4 separate regions of the Homo sapiens genome follow, and regions 1, 2 and 3 are each linked to region 4. Evidence: promoter capture Hi-C in human tissues and cell types (Jung and others, 2019). All regions are on one chromosome and are shown on one strand. Each heading gives the region's core, a stretch centred on a gene start or on the middle of the fragment in contact. The rest is flanking DNA. Distances are from core to core; before and after follow the strand shown.

Region 1 (2,700 bases), core at 94-2,593, 1.8 Mb after region 4:
TCCCACCAGGAGAGAACCACTACTAACACTTTAGTGTATACTTTCTCCCATATTTTTCGTCTTTGCTTTTTAAAATAGTTTAAAGTGGTCTGGCGTGGTGGCTCACGCCTATAATCTTATCACTTTGGGAGGCAGAGGCGGGCGGATCACCTGAACAGTCTGGCCAACATGGCGAAACCCCATCTGTACTAAAAATACAAAAATTAGCTGGACATGGTGGCGCGCACCTGTAGTTCCAGCTACTCAGGAGGCTGAGGCAGGAAAATCGCTTGAACCCGGGAGGCGGAGGTTGCAGTGAGCCAAGATCGCGCCACTGCACTCCAGCCTGGGCGACAGTGACTCTGCCTCAAAAAAAAAAAAAAAAAAAAAAAAAAAAGAAAAGAAAAAAGAAACCGCTGGCTTAGTAGAGCTGATGCTACCCCACTGCGTGCGCAGTTCCTATAATGTAACCAGAGAGACTGGCAGGTGACGGGGGTAGGTAGGAGACAAGCCATTTCAAGAGGAGGGAAATTAAGGGACCAGATTTGGAAGGATGGGCCAATTTTGCTGGCACTTAAGATATTAGATGCCCTGGGGCCAGAGGCCAGGATTCTGCACTTCCTTTTTATATTGGAGAGGAATAAGGAAGTCAGTTGGTTTCGATGGAACATGTGTTGTCTGAAGAAGGGTTTAATAGGCCAAGAAGCAGATGTCTACGAGGTAGCTGACATTCGAATCTGGAACTGAGAAAGGGTCTGGGGTTGGAAAAACTGCAGGACTGGTTAGTTTTCTACACACTTTAACAAGGCCTAGTCACTGCTGCTCCCTCCTCATTTTAAGAAAAGTCCTTTCTTTATTCACATTGCACAACGGAGGCTTCATTTCGCGCTTTTTTTTCCCTAGGCCCGGGGCTGGGGCAGGTCTTTTGCGCCCGTCACCTAACTACGCCCCTCAACCCTTTCCCCGCCCCCGCGCAGCCGGAAATCCGAGGTCTGGGCGGATCTTCTACTAGGCACTCTAAGGGGCAGCGATAGGACGCCGCGGCCGCCAATCAGGCCTCCCAGATACCCGGATGTGAGACGGTGCGCGATACAAAGGCGAGTTTCCACCCAGAGGGTCGTCCCGTGCAATAGCCAATAAGCATTCTCCAGGCAATAAATGACAGGAAAACTAACCAGTTATAAACTAGTTTCTCTCACGCATGTGGAAATTCGCCTGCTTAGTCTAACCCACTGCTAATTGTGATTGGATATCATTGTGAGGAGCGGTTGAACTGTCTAATTAGGAGCGGGAGCGAAAAAACGCACAGCCAATAGGAAGATTCTCAGGAATGGGGCGGGGACTAGGCCTTCGCCTCGGCGGCAGAGGAGACTCGGGGGCCATTTTGTGAAGAGACGAAGACTGAGCGGTTGTGGCCGCGTTGCCGACCTCCAGCAGCAGTCGGCTTCTCTACGCAGAACCCGGGAGTAGGAGACTCAGAATCGAATCTCTTCTCCCTCCCCTTCTTGGTAAGTGGAGAGGGCGGACGCAGGGAAGGCGCTGGGTTTTTCGGGAAGCGAGAGGGGGTGTGGGAGAGAAGATGTGGGAATCCTTCCCCCTAACTAACCGGGCCCTCATTTATTCTGCTTGTTTTGGGGGATTAGGTTGAAGCCGGGGGCAGTTTTATAGGCCTCAGCCTCTGTATAGGTTTAACCTGGTGTCCTCTAGGCCACGATCGCCAGGGAAAATGTCCTTTTTTCGCTCTTCCTGTGTTAACGGCTGCTTTCCTTTCATTTTCTACGACCGCGAGGACTACGGGATCATGAAAATGAAGATCGTGATGCTCATTAATATAGTCGAAGTTAACGTAGCGCCGATGCCTTCTATTACCTCCGTTCTTCTTACATGTAAAAAGTGGGGGAGGGGAAGGGGGAAGGTTACCAAGTAGATGTATCGCGAGCCTTTAAATCCTGGATCGTGCCGCGTGGCCTACGAGAAAGGTTTAACAAAAGATTCAGCATTTTACTGATAACTTTTTATTTTATTTCTCTCTATGAGCAAATGATGGAGCTCGAAGTAGTTATTTTCACTTACATTTGTAAAAGGAAATATTGTGATATAACTATATTAATATTTACAGCTGACTTTTCATCTGCAGGTTACAAAACACTTGAAATATATAAGTTAGTGGAACTTTGCTTGAGGTAGGTATTAACTCTCTTTCTCAGACGGAAACTGAGGCAGAAAAGTGTTGGTTGCTAGGGTCATATTAAGTCAGTAGCAGCACTAGTAAGGAATTTGACCACGAGGTCAGTCGAGTGGTTTTTACCTAGTTAATGGAATACCTAGTTAATATAGTTCTAAAACTACTGTATTGCAATCTTTGCCAAGAACCTGATGACGGAAACCACGAGGTAACTGGAAATTCCCAAATTGCGCTTAAGAAAAATACTACGAGACTTGAGAATTTTTTAACGTAACTTCCTAAGTGTAAGATGACAAAATTTGACTTTCGGGATATTCTGGCGTTAATTTTCCCGTCCGCCTAAATGTGGGCAAAAATTCACAGCTACGTTATATTAAGCAAATATTAACAGTGCCTATTATTTGCTGGGTGCTGAAATTTGATAAAAAACTTAAAAGTTAAAAAAAATTGTTTAGATCTTTAGTGTCACATTGACTTATCTGGGACATCGCTTTTTTTAATCCTCACATGAGATTTGGCTAAGTTTATTTTTCACA
Region 2 (2,700 bases), core at 133-2,632, 1.7 Mb after region 4:
TTCCTCATTTCTGGGGAAGGAAAGGAGACTAGAGCAGCTGGTGTGCTCACCCCTCCCTAGTCACCTCCATTAACCACAGACTATGTAGCGCTGGCCCTAGCCTCTGGCAGAGCCTGTTCCTGGCCGAACTGTGGATACAGCTGGAGGGTCAGGAACTGTTACCTTCTTTCCCCTTGGCATTAATAAATTTAAGTTAATCCTTTTCCACTCTTCCTTTGTTCTATGTTTGCTCAAACCCAGTGTATTGATTTTGAGTTGTTAATGGTGGGTAATTTCAGCACCACTTTCCTTAAGTTCAATACTGTTTATACTAAATTGCCTTACAGCAGACAAGTCATCTGTACTCCTCTAAAGGGTATATACAAATGTAGACTGTCCAGCTGGCTAAAGGCAAGGGAATTATTTAAGGTAAATGGTAGGTAGGCAAACTTCTGGATTCAAACTCCAAGTTTTTAGAAGAGACAGGGAGCAAGAATGTCATCAGGAACCATTTATGTTTTGTTTCTAATTAACTGAAGTAACGGTTATTTGGGGGAAGCCATAGAATAGTGCCAGTTTTCATGAACTGCAGCAAGGGGACTGGCCGACTGGAAGGATGCTGCCGCGACTTGGGCTCAGGGGGTGGGGTTGTGGGAAGGAACTAAAAGTTTGTAGAGCCCCTCAAGTCATCTGTTTCCTCTGACTTACACCATCCCACTGCTCAGTTAAAGCTTGCGCATATTATTTTCCTTTCGAAAACTAGGTTCCTCCCCCAGCTTGGGTCGTAGTTTATCACGAGGCTGGGCTCCATTTCCCTGGTATGAGTCCTCTGTCCCGGCGGAGCGCTTGACCCAGCATCCTGGCACCGAGGATCCCTCGAGTCCTGGAGCAGTCAAGGGCTTTTGCATTCCCATCATTTCTAGGAGGGGCGCATGCCCAGTTACACTGTAGTAGTCCCACTTTTATCCCACGCTAGATCCCGCTCTTTCCGCTCCCCCTTCCTTTGCAGATGGGGTGGAGCTATAACACCCGCGCGCGGCAGCTCTTGTGGGCGGGGCAGGCGCCGCCTCCTTCGCTTCGTCTAGGGACTGCCGCCTCGGCAAAAAGTCTGAGGTCCTGGAAACCGCCGCTGGGCTGAGAGTTAATAAGGGCGGAGGCAGACCGTCACGTGACGACGTCGATTCGCGTGCGGCAGTGGCGAAGTTGACAAACCCCGCGAAAATCGACTCTTTGCATCGCACATTTTGTTGATTTTCCCTCGTTTTTCTTTCTCTCTTTCCCCCGTCCATCCGAAAGAGGGTTGGAAAAAAACAAAACAAACAAACAAACAAAAAAAAAACCTAACGCTGTTGGGACCCGGAAGCGGAAAGGGCATCTTTGAGGTCGATACTTCCGGGTCATTGGGAGAGTGCGGGATTCCTGGGCCGAGAGCGGGTGGCTGAGCCGGGACCTCGCGTGATTCTCGGAACCCGAGGAGAAGCGGCGTCCGGGGCTATGGCTGTGACTCTGGACAAAGACGCTTATTATCGGCGAGTGAAGAGACTGTACAGCAATTGGCGGGTGAGGAAGATCCTGTAATTTTTCCTAGGGAGCCCCCTTAGCCATCCCATAATAACCCTGTTTCTCGGCGCCCTTTTTTCTCTTTCGGTCAGGAATTCCCGGGTTCTGTGCCTCACCCTTTTCGTTGCTCCCGAATCATTCACCGGAGGCGGCCACGAACGCTGCCCCTTAACAGGGAATCCCCCGCATTCACCCTGTCCTGCGGCCATCACCATCTTCCCCGCGTGCCAGCCTTGGTCATGCATAGCAGCACCTCTCGCAGTCTCTTCCCGCCCTAGAAGAGGCAACATCCTTCCCTCCTACTCCGTGGTCACGTCTTGCTGCCCTCCCCTGCCGTGTTCTCACGCACTCGCTCTGTCCCTCCAGAACCACAATATTCCACCCCTGGTCCCGCCAGGATTATAACCGTCTTCGTAAAGGAGAGATGGAAGGGCAAGGAGGATGTCAATCGGGCTTTTAGCGTTTATCGTTTGCGGGGCTTTTGCTGGAGTTAAAAAAAGAAATACTGCTCACGCGCAACCGCCTCATGTTCTAGGCCCTGCTGTGGGTTACAGAGAGGGACCTAACGCTGAAAGCCTGCAGGCATTAGTAATAACAAAACAAAACAAAACGATGCCTAAAACCTTATTAGTTCCTTGGTAGCGTATCCGGGGCACGTGTTCATTAAAAGAGCTGTGGCAGTTCCCAGTTTTTTAAAGATTCGGCAGTTTTGCTGCTCTAAAAACGTCCACAGTTAAAACTTATTTTTATGATGTTAACTTACTAATTGAGCAAACATTTGGTTGCATTCTGTGATGCAGTCTGAGTTGGCTAGCTTAAGTCTTGCCCCTGAACCCTGTCATCAAGGGAAGATACAGCTAATAAAGATTTTTTTTTAACCTGAAAAACGTTTTGAGAAAAATGATCAGCTCTCATTTCAGCATTGTAAATTATCTTTCAAACTGGTCATCTACTAAAACCAAGCCATTAAAATTGGTCGTTTCCTTGCCATTCATATTAAAGCTGTCTGTGCATGTTTCATCTTTTGGGGCTAAATACATTAGATAATTGAAAATAAAATTGATTCTCTTGCATTTTATGAAAAGGAAAAATAAGAACTAAATGCTAGATGAATACTGAACATTTTATTTTTTTTAATTTTTTGATTAATTTCTACCAAAT
Region 3 (2,700 bases), core at 54-2,553, 1.6 Mb after region 4:
TCTCGAACTCCTGACCTCAGGCGATCCACCCGCCTCAGCCTCCCAAAGTGCTGGGATTACAGGCGTGAGCCACTGCGCCCAGCTTAAGGCCGAGTCTTATCACTCATATGACTTCTTGATGTCTCTGAGCTCCTATCATGTAAGACCATGCAATTATGTTACTCCTTGAGAAATTCCTTTAATAATCTGGAAGGATTCCCTCACTCACAACTTTAAAAAAGATTTCTTGGCCAGGAATGGTGGCTCATGTCTGTAATCCCAGCACTTTGGGAGGCCGAGGTGGGCGGATCACTTGAGGTCTGGAGTTCGAAACCAGCCTGACCAACATGGCGAAACCCCGTCTCTACTAAAAATACAAAAATTAGCTGGGCGTGGTGGCGGGAGCCTGTAGTCTCAGCTACTCAGGAAGCTGAGACAGGAGAATTGCTTGAACCCGGGAGGCAGAGGTTGCAGTGAGCCGAGATCGCCCCACTGCACTCCAGCCTGGGTGACCGAGCGAGACTCCATCTCAAAAAAAAAAAAAAAAATTAGGCCTTTAAAAAAAAAAAGGAATTCCTCCTTAAGTCCTGTTCTTGATTTCCAACTGATTCACAGTGCCCCTACTGGAAAATTTGCAGTGAATCCTAAAGCTTAGTAGCACCTATAATAGATACATGTCCTGATATTTTGAGTGAGGTGTCCATAAAGGATTACCCTAGGAAAGTGCAACTTTCACTCTCATTAGAAGAATTAATTTTTGCTTATTTGATTTGTTAAAATTGCTTTACTCCTACAGTTAAGTGAGAGGGTGGTGGTGGTTGTTGCCCGTAACCACATACGGCATTACTCCAGGGTTTCACGTCGTGACTGAGGGGCCTCCTAAGTGTATACAGCAGAGTATGTTCGGGCTGGACCTAGATAGTCGGACAGAACACCGACAGGGTCTTCACATTCTTTAAGCACTCTCACCCAGTCCCGGAGTCCGAGCCAAGATGGCTTCCCAGAAGTAGGTAACTAAGTGTTGTTTTAGTTCACAGCGCCCCCAATGGCGGGGGTCAAAAAAAGATGCCGAGGGGCCTGGCCGCCTGTGAACTGAGTCGTCAGAGGCGAGCCGCCGCCAGATTTTATTTTCAATCAGGCATATTTGTGGTCGCCTACGTACCCTTCTCATCCTCCTAGGACCTTCCACCCTCAAGAGACTTCCTGGATGGCGCTCACACTAGCTCGCTGGAAGAGGCCGGGCTTCGGTGCTGCCATTGGCGGATGGGAGCGCAGGGGGGCGGAGCCTAGGGAGAATGGACTACTAGCAAGCTAGATTGAGGCGAGGGCTGGCCATGCTCCGCCGGAAGGCGCCTTGTTCTCGGAGAGGGTGAGTTGAAACGCTGCCTGGAAAGGAAGTACCAGGACTTGCACAGGTAGGCTTCCCGCTCGCACCCGCTCCTCAGTGCTGGGCCAGGAGTCAGCAAAAGCTGAGGCTCTCAGAGATTTGATTTAAGTAACTCCTTCTCCTCTCTCTTCCACCCCCTGCTCGCCCCCCAGTTGTGAGGGATCAGGTGCGGGGTGATGCTCCGGACTGAACCAGTCTCCTTTGTGAGAGGCCGGGGGAGAGGGTGGCTGCCGGGCCGCGGGGTCCGAGCCGGGCCGAGCCGCGAGGGACTGCTTGGGACGCTGTGGAGTTTTCAGGGCTTGTCATTGCATTACTGGGCGTAGTGTAGATTGGAGGCGGCGCCTTGTTCTCCTCTCTTCAGAGAAGGGAAAACTCCTCGGCCCCGTTTGGTTACTCCATACTTTGGATTCAGAAATAGGTGGTTAGGGTTTTCTACTTCTTTTTATTTTTTTTTCTTCTGTATTTTAATAATAAAGGTGGGTAGGAAAGCATGGGGTAAGCGTAAGCAGATTGTTACTCATTCTCAGGTGTAAGTTCTGTGGGTCTCCTGGCAGTGAAGAGCAGGCTGTTGGAGAATGTTTAGAGATGGTGGGAAGAGAGGAGCTCAAGCCTTGCATCCTCCTTGACAGGTCTGCAGAGCTCACTGGTTTTCCGTTGCATTATGTAAACTCGTCACTGATAGAAGACCCTTCCCCCTGCTTTGGAACGAATGCAGTTTATTTACCTGTCTCTAGTGTCGCAGGGAATTTCCCTGCAGCAGCTGTATAAATGCAGCAGCCTCTTGCTTTTTAAGGGACAGTCTTGAAGCGGTTAGGGTCTTCACAGAAAAGGTATATAGTGGACCCATCTCTTTCGTATGGCTAAGCAAAGTGAGCCAGAAGTCAAAGATTTAGAACTCTGTCTTTTTCTATTAAAGAATAAACAGCGGAGCGCCCCAAACACAAGCCAGGGGAGCTGCCTTATCAGTGTCTGCTGCATCCTACCATCACAGCGGCGTCTACAGATCGTTTCATCTCCATGCTTTTCTGAGTTTGTCGACTCAGTCAAGGATTCTCAGCCTAGGTTAGCATATGCTGAAGTCATCTGGTGTGGGGCACATTACATATCGAAAGTGAGTTTGTGATTTGAATCGTGTCCTGTGTTAGTTAATTAGATCGTGTCTTCTGCTTAGGAATTTCTTTTGTATTGGTCATCCAATAGGTTTCAGAACAAATTCTAGTCAACCTCATAGAGCAAGATATGAGAAACTTATTTCAAGTACTTTGGAATTATCCCAACCCTTAAAAAAAGAGTTATGATAAGAAAAACATTTTCCATGTAAGAAGACCTTCTGC
Region 4 (2,700 bases), core at 142-2,641:
TTTTTTTTTTTTTTTTTTGAGACGGAGTCTTGCTCTGTCACCCAGGCTGTAGTGCAATGGCGTGATCTCAACCACTGCTTCCTGGGTTCAAGCGATTCTCCTGCCTCAGCCTCCCGAGTAGCTGGGACTATAGGCGTACGCCACCACGCCCGGCTAATTTGTTTGTATTTTTAGTAGAGACGGGGTTTCACCATATTGGCCAGACTGGTCTCCAACTCCTGACCTCAAGTGATCCGCCCGCCTCGGCCTCCCAAAGTGCTGGGATTATAGGCGTAAGCCACCGCGCCCGGCACCTTGCCACTGATTTTGCATCATGAATGCAACGGAAAGATCAGCCAATTTGACTTTAATAGTTTTCAGTCTCTTAAATCTCTAACGTATCTCTTAAATCTCTAAACTATTTGTCTGTGACCTATTTTACTGTTTGTGTTTCTTCTGCATCAAGTTGGAGGATTGGTAGTGACAAAGAAAGAAGCCCCTAAACAATTAATATTAGTTCAAGTACCAAAAAAGTTCAGGGCGCTTGCATTTTCCAGTTCTTGCCCTACAGGAAGCAGTTCCTCCAAGGGAACTTACTCTCTTCTGCGGAGCAAGGAAGAACTTTCCCAGAATCTTGCCACATGGCTTCCAAGGCAAACTCAAACTCAAGTTCAGCGTCATAGATCAGTTCATAGTCTGGGTCCGAAGACACGGCGATGCTTCTTGCGCACCCCCACGGAGCTTGTTATTCCGATTCCGCACCAGCCCCCCGCCCCTCCCCAAAAAAAGCCTAAGATGGGAGTGGCTATGATTCAGAGGACAGAGGGCAGAAGCTGTTTGCGTTAAGGAGTGGGGGGCTTGCCCTATTAAGGTAATCCGCAAACACCGAGTCTGACCCGGCCCATAGAGGTACTTCTACCCCGCTTACCTCCCCTTTTCTCTCGAAGGGCACCCGAAGATTGTCACGAGTCCTTAGACTCCAACTACTGCGGCAGCTTCCAAATTTCCTGAAAACCCTAAGCTGGGCCAGCCCGGCAGCCCACGCACTTCCGGCCTCGGACCCGCCCCAAACACCCAAGCGCCCCAGCGCCTCATCTCTAGGTCCGGAAATAAACGAACATCTCCGATTATGGTTATACCAGGGTCGAGGGTTTCCGAATATATTCGATTCAAAGCTTCGGCAAGACGAAGAAAACCGAGCCTGAAAGCAGGGCGAGAAAAGGGGCGCTGCAGGGCGGATGGAAAGAATTGATTGGTAACGATGTGGAGACGGAAACATCCGAGGACATCCGGAGGAACCCGGGGAGTTCTGAGTGGTAATCGAGGGGTAGAGTATGGCAGTGGGCGGGGTCATCTCGGTACGTTCGAAGGGCGTTGGCGGAAATTACCGAAGATGCCCGAAGCCGTCGGGACGGACCCGAGTACCTCACGCAAGATGGCGGAGCTGGAGGAGGTGACTCTGGACGGGAAGCCTCTTCAGGCGCTGCGGGTGACCGACCTGAAGGCCGCACTGGAGCAGCGAGGCCTAGCCAAGAGCGGGCAGAAGAGTGCCCTGGTCAAGCGGCTCAAAGGGGTGAGGAGTCGGCGTTGCTGGGGTGTCGGAGGAGAGCGGACCCGGTAGAGACGAGCCTCTGCCGCGGCGCAGGCGCAGTATCCGGGCTCGGCGCGAGCTCGCTCAGGCCGCCAGCGCGAGCCTCTGGATCCGCGCGCACGGTGGTTGATGAGGTTCGCGCTGGAATGGAGATCGCGCCGGTTCCCGCCTTAACGGCAGCAGCGCGAGCCCAAATGGGAGGGTGTGCACTACTCTCCAGGAGTGTCTTAAGCTCCTTCCTCCTTCCCCCACCCCCTCCTTGTTTGTATCTGTGGTTTCGGCGCATGCGCTGCAGAAGGAGTTAAATCCCACTACAACCTACGGCGTTGCTGGCCTGAGGGGGGCGAGTTGGGCTGGGTCGGAGTTAGGGGTATAGTTGCGCGAAGGGGTGGATGGGGTTGGTATCGGTATCTGCACGAATAGGACTGGGGTAGGGTAAAATGTCTGCTCGATTAGATGAGGAGGTGAGATGAAGAGAGACCTTTATTTGAAGGGACTTGATGAGAGAGAGGTCTCTAATTTAGTGGCATCTAGTGGCAATTTGGGTGGTTAAGAGTTTGGTGAATATTGGTGAGAGAGGCGAGGCAGGTTGATATATATTGGGGATTTTGAATCGGTTTGAGTAGATTAAGGTGGGATTGTCATGAGGTAGGTGTAGCTCGATTCAAGTGTATAGGTTTGGTTTAAAGAAGGGAAGATGAGGATGTCTTGGTTTTAATTAGAGTTCAACAGGATACGTGGCAGGTAGTGCAGATTAGGTCTGGGTTGGCTCCAGGGTTGAGTTGGCAGACCGTTGCTTATACAGAAGCTGATAGTTTTGTGTGTGTGTGTTTGTGTGTGTGTGTTTGTGTGGATAGACTAGGTTAGACCACAGTTTACAGGGTCTGTGGTCATTTTCTTCTGTAGCTTCCTCTTTGAAAATTTTATAAATTTGATAAATCTAGGTGCCACAGTACTGGAAATTATACAAATTGACCCTGGTACTGGGTAACCCTTTGACCAAGTAATTCCGTCAGGCAAAAACCAGGAGCCCCATGGCTGGTTTGAGTATTTTAAGTAATTTTACATGCATGATCAGATTTAGAAGGGGCACTTGGCGAAAGTGCAGAAGATAATAGGGATTTTAGTAC

Evidence for each region. The method cuts DNA at HindIII sites, captures the fragments that hold promoters and counts their contacts. A contact is called where the count stands out against the background at its distance.
Region 1: the fragment with the promoter of HNRNPC here is called in contact with the fragment with the promoter of ACIN1 in region 4 in 1 of the 25 tissues and cell types used here (pancreas).
Region 2: the fragment with the promoter of SUPT16H here is called in contact with the fragment with the promoter of ACIN1 in region 4 in 1 of the 25 tissues and cell types used here (hippocampus).
Region 3: a contact is called between the fragment with the promoter of CHD8 here and the fragment with the promoter of ACIN1 in region 4, in 1 of the 25 tissues and cell types used here (hippocampus).

The regions. Positions count from the first base shown.
Region 1 is chr14:21,268,085-21,270,784 of GRCh38, reverse strand. HNRNPC (heterogeneous nuclear ribonucleoprotein C) reads left to right here and starts at 1,343. Exons shown (of 9, transcript NM_004500.4): 1 at 1,343-1,487. RefSeq lists enhancers at 614-1,239, 1,343-1,602, 1,240-1,864 and a silencer at 1,173-1,252. The HindIII fragment of the contact is 14,707 bases long and covers 1-2,700 here.
Region 2 is chr14:21,382,701-21,385,400 of GRCh38, reverse strand. SUPT16H (SPT16 homolog, facilitates chromatin remodeling subunit) reads left to right here and starts at 1,382. Exons shown (of 26, transcript NM_007192.4): 1 at 1,382-1,539. The coding sequence starts at 1,474. It overlaps CHD8 (chromodomain helicase DNA binding protein 8), which reads left to right. Exons shown (of 38, transcript NM_001170629.2): 38 at 1-202. LOC107984643 (a long non-coding RNA gene) reads right to left here and starts at 1,128. Exons shown (of 2, transcript XR_001750627.2): 1 at 688-1,128. The HindIII fragment of the contact is 14,834 bases long and covers 1-2,700 here.
Region 3 is chr14:21,454,726-21,457,425 of GRCh38, reverse strand. It overlaps CHD8 (chromodomain helicase DNA binding protein 8), which reads left to right and starts at 1,303. Exons shown (of 38, transcript NM_001170629.2): 1 at 1,303-1,394. It overlaps LOC124903283 (a long non-coding RNA gene), which reads right to left and starts at 1,029. Exons shown (of 2, transcript XR_007064064.1): 1 at 949-1,029. RefSeq lists enhancers at 1-454, 731-780, 791-840, 455-1,006, 871-1,560. The HindIII fragment of the contact is 24,117 bases long and covers 1-2,700 here.
Region 4 is chr14:23,093,827-23,096,526 of GRCh38, reverse strand. It overlaps ACIN1 (apoptotic chromatin condensation inducer 1), which reads left to right and starts at 1,391. Exons shown (of 19, transcript NM_001386863.1): 1 at 1,391-1,552. The coding sequence starts at 1,415. It overlaps C14orf119 (chromosome 14 open reading frame 119), which reads right to left and starts at 1,022. Exons shown (of 2, transcript NM_017924.4): 1 at 908-1,022. RefSeq lists enhancers at 588-1,111, 991-1,200, 1,221-1,300, 1,112-1,635, 1,341-1,650. The HindIII fragment of the contact is 4,223 bases long and covers 1-2,642 here.